Regions from separate parts of the Homo sapiens genome. Here region 1 is linked to region 2. Evidence: promoter capture Hi-C in human tissues and cell types (Jung and others, 2019). All regions are on one chromosome and are shown on one strand. The core of a region is centred on a gene start or on the middle of the fragment in contact, and the rest is flanking DNA. Distances in the headings are between cores, read along the strand shown. Region 1 has its middle 97 kb from the start of ATF7IP. Region 2 holds the start of STRAP (serine/threonine kinase receptor associated protein).

The links. The method cuts DNA at HindIII sites, captures the fragments that hold promoters and counts their contacts. A contact is called where the count stands out against the background at its distance.
Region 1: a fragment that was not itself captured here is called in contact with the fragment with the promoter of STRAP in region 2 in 1 of the 25 tissues and cell types used here (lymphoblastoid cells).

Annotation. Positions count from the first base shown.
Region 1 is chr12:14,266,842-14,269,950 of GRCh38, reverse strand. No RefSeq gene overlaps it. Among named protein-coding and RNA genes, the nearest start is that of ATF7IP, 97 kb to the left of the region's middle. The HindIII fragment of the contact is 4,901 bases long and covers 1-3,109 here.
Region 2 is chr12:15,880,615-15,883,724 of GRCh38, reverse strand. STRAP (serine/threonine kinase receptor associated protein) reads right to left here and starts at 1,338. Exons shown (of 10, transcript NM_007178.4): 1 at 906-1,338; 2 at 49-184. The coding sequence starts at 1,017. LOC102724146 (a long non-coding RNA gene) reads left to right here and starts at 1,427. Exons shown (of 6, transcript XR_007063230.1): 1 at 1,427-1,945; 2 at 2,526-2,618. RefSeq lists enhancers at 1,261-1,380, 1,691-1,920. The HindIII fragment of the contact is 37,030 bases long and covers 1-3,110 here.

The DNA.
Region 1 (3,109 bases), core at 377-2,876, 1.6 Mb after region 2:
TCGCCTGAACCCAGGAAGCAGAGGTTGCAGTGAGCCAAGATTGCGCCACTGTACTCCAGCCTGAGGACAGAGTGAGACTCTGTCTCAAAAAAAAAAAAAAAAAAAAAAAAATCAGAGAAAGCCAAATGTGTACCCCTAACCAATCACATAGGAATTCCTGTTTCTAGTTTGCCTGCTTACAGCTTCCTCATGCCAACAGCCTCTAACTGGGGCATAGTTGAAGCCTTTCCTTTTTCCTACAATAAAACTTTCCTACTCCTCTGCCTGCCTTGGAGTGTCTGCCAAAATACAAGTGACAGTGGTTGACTCCCTAGCTATAGCAATCTCTGAATAAATAGAATTTGCTTGTTCTCATTTGGTTTGTCTTAGTTTTTTTCCACATTCTGTCCACCCTTGTAACTTTCTATTTGGGGGACTTGTATTTGATATTATGCCTTATTCTCTCCATCCACTTTGTCCTAAAGTGGATGACATACTATTTTAGAGTTCCAATTGTAAAAATGCCTTTTATCCCTGGATAAGATTGCATTTTGATCCTTTTAATCTCAATGAGCCAGAAGTTTTAGGGCACCAAGAGAAAAAGTCTGGAGGGTTTCATATGTCCTTTTCCCCACTATCAAATGCAATCACAAAACAGTATTTCAATATTATCAGTACTGCTTTTGTTCCTATCCCTTATCTGAAGTCGAGAATCTTCAATTGTTTAAAGTTTCCTAGTTAAAGTTTCCTAGTACCTTCATATAGCACTGCTTGCTAGGTGTTTGAGGACAGGAGACTCTTGACTGCCTACAGGTTTACCATTGAGTCTCTACAGAGACTCTTCTTGGGAAGGCGAGTGAGTGTCTTGGCCTTTTTAGGGTCCATGTGACAGAGTGTAACTTTCTTACGACTTATCAGACTGGTTATTTGTTTGTTCTTGCGGACCTTGAATATCTGAGATAGGTCTCAGTCAATTTAGCAAGTTTATTTTGCCAAAGTTAAGGATGTGCACCTGTGACACAGCCTCAGGAAGTCCTGATGACATGTGCCCAAGGTGGGAAGAATACAGCTTGTTTTTCTTTTTCTTTTTTTCTTTTTTGAGACAGAGTTTCACTCTTTCGCCCAGGCTGGAGTGCAGTGGCTGATCTAGGCTCACTGCAATCTCCACCTTCTGGTTTCAAGCGATTCTCCTGCCTCAGCCTCCCAAGTAACTGGGATTGCAGACGCCTGCCACCACACCTGGCTAATTTTGTATTTTTAGCAGAGATGGGGTTTCACCATGATGGCCAGACTGGTCTCGAACCCCTGACCTTGTGATCCGTCCGCCTAGGCCTCCCAAAGTGCTGGGATACAGGCGTGAGCCACCGCTCCCAGCCCACAGCTTGGTTTATACATTTTGGGGAGACATGAAACATCAATCAACATATGTAGGATGAACATTGGTTCAGTCTGGAAAGGTGGGATGACTTGAAGCAAAGGCAGGACAACTCAAAAAAAAAAAAAAGGTGGGACCACTCAAAAAAAGCAAAAGCAGAGAGGAGGCTTTCAGGTCATAGGTAGAGAAGAGACAAATGGTTGCATTCTTTTGAGTTTCTAATTAGCCTTTCCAAAGTAGTCAATGAGATATGCATTTATCTCAGTGAGCAGAGGGATGACTTTGAATACAATGGGAGGCAACTTTGCCCTCAACAGTTCCCAGCTTGACTTTTCCCCTTAGCTTAATGATTTTTGAGGCCCCAAGATTTATTTTCCTTTCACATTTTCAACCTTCATTCTCACACTTCTGTGCTCTGCTGTGTGTTAGATTCTGTAATCTACATTTACAAACTTTTGGTCAGATTCTGCCAATGGAAAGAGATTAAAAGGCAAGAGGGAGGGAATTGTGACTCTCTTTTTCTAGTTTTGAGCAGTTGAAAAAGCAGCTGTTTCCAGCAGTTCCAGCACTACACACCAGTGATAAAAGAATGGAGGCGGCAATAGCGTTGATGGCAGGGGCAACATTAGTAGTGAAGTCTGGGGCAGACGAAGCCACGGGGACTCCGACAGCAGCCTGCGCTTGCAGGCTCCTGGGCTCCAGTTCAGGTAGCTGGGCTTCAATAACAGAAGCCTTAGCTGCATGCACCCTTGGCCTCTGCTCAGTGATTTTGCTTCCCCAGTCTAGAAATGGTTAGTAGTTACTACTCATTGAGTAAGCTTCTCGTCCTCTGGACTTCCCAACATTAACTAATTCCTTCATTTAAATCTCTACTGGTTGAAATGACTAGAGTGGGGTTTTTTTCCTCCTTAATTTGCATAATGAATGATAGGCTCCTCTCTTGGTGAAATCCAGTTAAAATTCCACCATAGTAGAATCTCAGGGCATCTTTCTTTGTTTTGTTTTATTTGAAATATAAAGGAACAAGTTTCCCTCTTATTTCTTTGGGAAGATATCTGCCTTAGAGAAATAAAGCCACTGGCAGTGGATTTGCATAGATTATTCCTTCTCCCTGAGCACAGATATGTAAATATATTCCAAGAAGGGGCTTGGTGACTTTGATCTACTCTATTTAAGATTAATAGCAGCCGGGGCACGGTGACTCACGCCTGTAATCCCAGCACTTTGGGAGGCCGAGGCGGGCGGATCACGAGGTCAGGAGATTGAGACCATCCTTCCTAACACGGTGAAACACCGTCTCTACTAAAAATACAAAAATTTAACCAGGCATGGTGGCATGCGCCTGAAGTCGCAGCTATTCAGGAGCCTGAGACAGGACAATCCCTTGAACCAGGGAGGCGGAGGTTGCAGTGAGCCAAGATCCTGTCATGCCACTGCACTCCAGCCTGGGTGACAGAGTGAGATTCTGTCTCAAAAAAAAAAAAAAAAAAAAAAAGCCCTGGCCGGGCGCATGGCTCACGCCTGTAATCCCAGCACTTTGGGAGGCCGAGGCAGGCGGATCACAAGCTCAGGAGTTCGAGACCAGCCTGGCCATTTGGTGAAACCCTGTCTCTATTAAAAATACAAAAAAATTAGCCAGGCGTGGTGGCGGGCACCTGTAGTGCCAGCTACTTGAGAGGTGGAGGTTGCAGTAAGCTGAGATCGCACCACTGCACTCCAGCCTGGACAACAGAGCTAGACCCGTCTCAAAAAAAA
Region 2 (3,110 bases), core at 89-2,588:
ACACAAGCTACAGAGAACACCAAAGTTAGCCATCTTGGCTACACTTACGCTGTGAAATCTGCAGCTGCTGTAGCTGCTTTGGTGGCATCCTTATTCAGTGTTGCACCCCAAACAGCACCTTTATGACCCAAAAATGTTCCAATCCAGTCTCCTGTATCTCCCTGGCGTAGCATAGGTTTACCATCTAGAAAATATTTTTTAAAACATGTAATTTATAAGTTCAGATTACTTAAAGTCTAAGATTCAAATGTAAATATACAATGATGTTCAATGACAAAGTGGAAAAATTGTTTCAGCTATTTAACTACCACCACCCACTGAAGGCACTAAGGAATGTGCAGTAATAAATTAACTGAAGAGCTGAACAGATCATTCTCTCTGAAAAGCATCTGTAATTGGCTGGGAATACTGATCTGCGTCAAAACAATCTAGATTTTAGTCTTATTTTGGACAGACATCTTAGCCTGAATCTCAGTTTCCCATTTGAAAAATGAGGCTAATACCACAAAGGAATATCCAGTGAGACAAGAGCGAACGTCTTTGTAAGGTATTGCACGGCCTGGCCTAATTTCTCCTTTCCCCAAATCCTTGAAAGCTATTTACCGTGTTGTCCCGAGAGTCTAGGCAAATGCTGACCAGCTCCTTCAAAAATAGCAATAAAAATAAAATAAGGAGAGAGGTCTTAGTTGGAGGTAATAGTTTCTACAAAAGCGTCCTCTCGGCTCCAGCTGCGGATTCCCTAACACACTCCTTTCTCCACCGGACCAGTGTTGGCTCTCATCTCAGATGTTAATATCGCCCCCTCCCCCCTCACCACACCACCGCTTCGGCACTGGAGCGTGCGGGTCCCGATCCCTTTCAGCCCAGTCCCAGCCGTCGAGGACCAGGATTGCGGCCTTGCTCACCTTTGCAAGCGCTGATTAAGAAATACCCATAAGGCGTGATGCCACTGAAGGCCAAATCAACCACGGGTCGCGTGTGGCCAGAGCAGGTGAGCGGCGTCTGTCTCATTGCCATGGCGGCGGCGAAGCCAGCGACCGGACTGGCGAGCTGAGGGTCGTCGTTGTCTTTTCTCTCTTCTGCTGCAGTGCCTCGGGCTGCTCCAGGCCCCCGCCCTGACACTAGGGCTGGGCTGGGCAACAGGAAAAGAAGGGCAATCCGGTGGCACCGAGGTTAGGGAGGGGTGAGGGAGGGGTCAGGGAGTCTGCGACCAGCAAGCAACAGTCGACGAGGGAGGGAAAGGGAGGGAGGGAGGAAAGTAGGGGATGGGGAGAAGCGGAGAACCGGGCCAGCCACGATTCACAGCGTCCACACCGGCATCGGCAGGAAGTGACGACGTAAATGACGCAGAGCACCCGCCGGAAATGACGATTGGCGGGAGGGCGGGCTCGCCGGGTAGAAGTGACTTGAAGAAAGAGCGAGAAGTATAGAAGGGCGCAGGCGCTAGTTCAGTGCTCGTGAGGTAACTGGCGCTGGCCCACGCCGACTAAGGGAGACGCTCTAGGCACCGGGATGGGGTCCCTGTCCCCGAGCTCTAGCGGGTCAGAACGCCTTCCTGGTCCGCGGCCGAGTTGAAAGTTGTTCCCACTCCCATAAGTCCAAGGACCAGCGTCAGCTGTGTACCTGCCGAGCAGCCCTACTGAGGACTGTGCTCGGCCTCTGAATATCTAGACGGACACGAGCCATACCCAGTGACGGCCCAAACCAGCGAACGCTGTCTGGCAACGTTTTTTGCAATTTGTCTTATTTAAAAACCATATACGGGCTTGGAGTGGTGGTGCCTGTGGTCCCACCTACTTGGAAGGCTGAGGTGGGAGGATAACTCGAGCCCGAGAGGTCGACACCGCAGTAAGCGGTGCTCGCGCCACCGCACTCCAGCCTGGGCAACAGAGCGAGACCATGTATTAAAAAAAAAAAAAAAATCCCCAGTCATTTCTTCCGCTGTGTAAGTTTTCCTATGTTGCTAATGTTTTAGGAGTGGATACTATATAGTTTTAAATGCGATTAAATTCAAGTTACTTTTTCCTTGGTGGACTTCGGAGAACTCTAGAGTCGTAGATCCCCAATTTTTTTGATGAAATACTCTCATCCGTAAAGTGAGCCTTCACTCATTTTATAAGCGAATGAATGCTGAATTCTATCAAAAACTTTTACACCTTTTGATATGATGTATATATGAGTGATGATTTGCAAATTACATAGATGTGCATTATAATACATGGACAAAAATAGAAATATTAAAATAATATTTAAATATAAACAAACTCTGATATTGTCTGCAGCAGGCAGCCCACTGTGGCTCTGTGAAACCACCAGAGCTGTTAATTGTTGATACTGTTTCCTAACCAGGAGAGGGCTTTTCTCTGGGCAAGTTGTATCTTTATTGATAGAATGTAAACCCAATACAACAGAGATTTTTGTGTTTTCTTTGCTACTTTATCCCCAAGGTCAAAACGTCTGGGCACATAGCAATAAATATGTAATCAACATAAATGTCTGTGAATGTTTTCTTCATCTTTTTGCAGCAAACACCGTCTACAAGATTCGAGTCAAACAACGTGAGAACTTGAAATACGTCTCCATTCTTTTTCCTTAGTACTCTCGTTCATTCACTTACGGTAAAGCACTTACTATATATGTTTTTCATTTTATCTTGTTCGACTCCTCCTTTGTGCCATCCTCTCCCTTTTGTCTCACACATACGCACCACTCACACATTTATGAACTCCTTAATGGCAATGGTTATGGCTTTGTCATTTGTACTCTAGTGCCAGAAAAGTGAATGGCATTTAGTGAATACTCAGCATGACTGTTTACTGATTAAATAGATTGTTGCATTACTGATGGAGGTAAATAAAAGACCCACTCAAAATGACACAACTGGTCAGATACTGATACATGTTCATTTATTGCTCATTGTGTGTAGATAAGAATATAATTGGTAAGTTATGGTACATACTTGGCTCTAAAGAATGTATTATTTCCTGCTCATTTGGATTCTGAGTTCTAAGAGTATTGTGTATTATGACCAATTGGGTAGGCTTCAAGGTCAATTTAATATTAGAAGACAGGTTAATGTAATTGATATAATTAACAATATTAAAAGATTA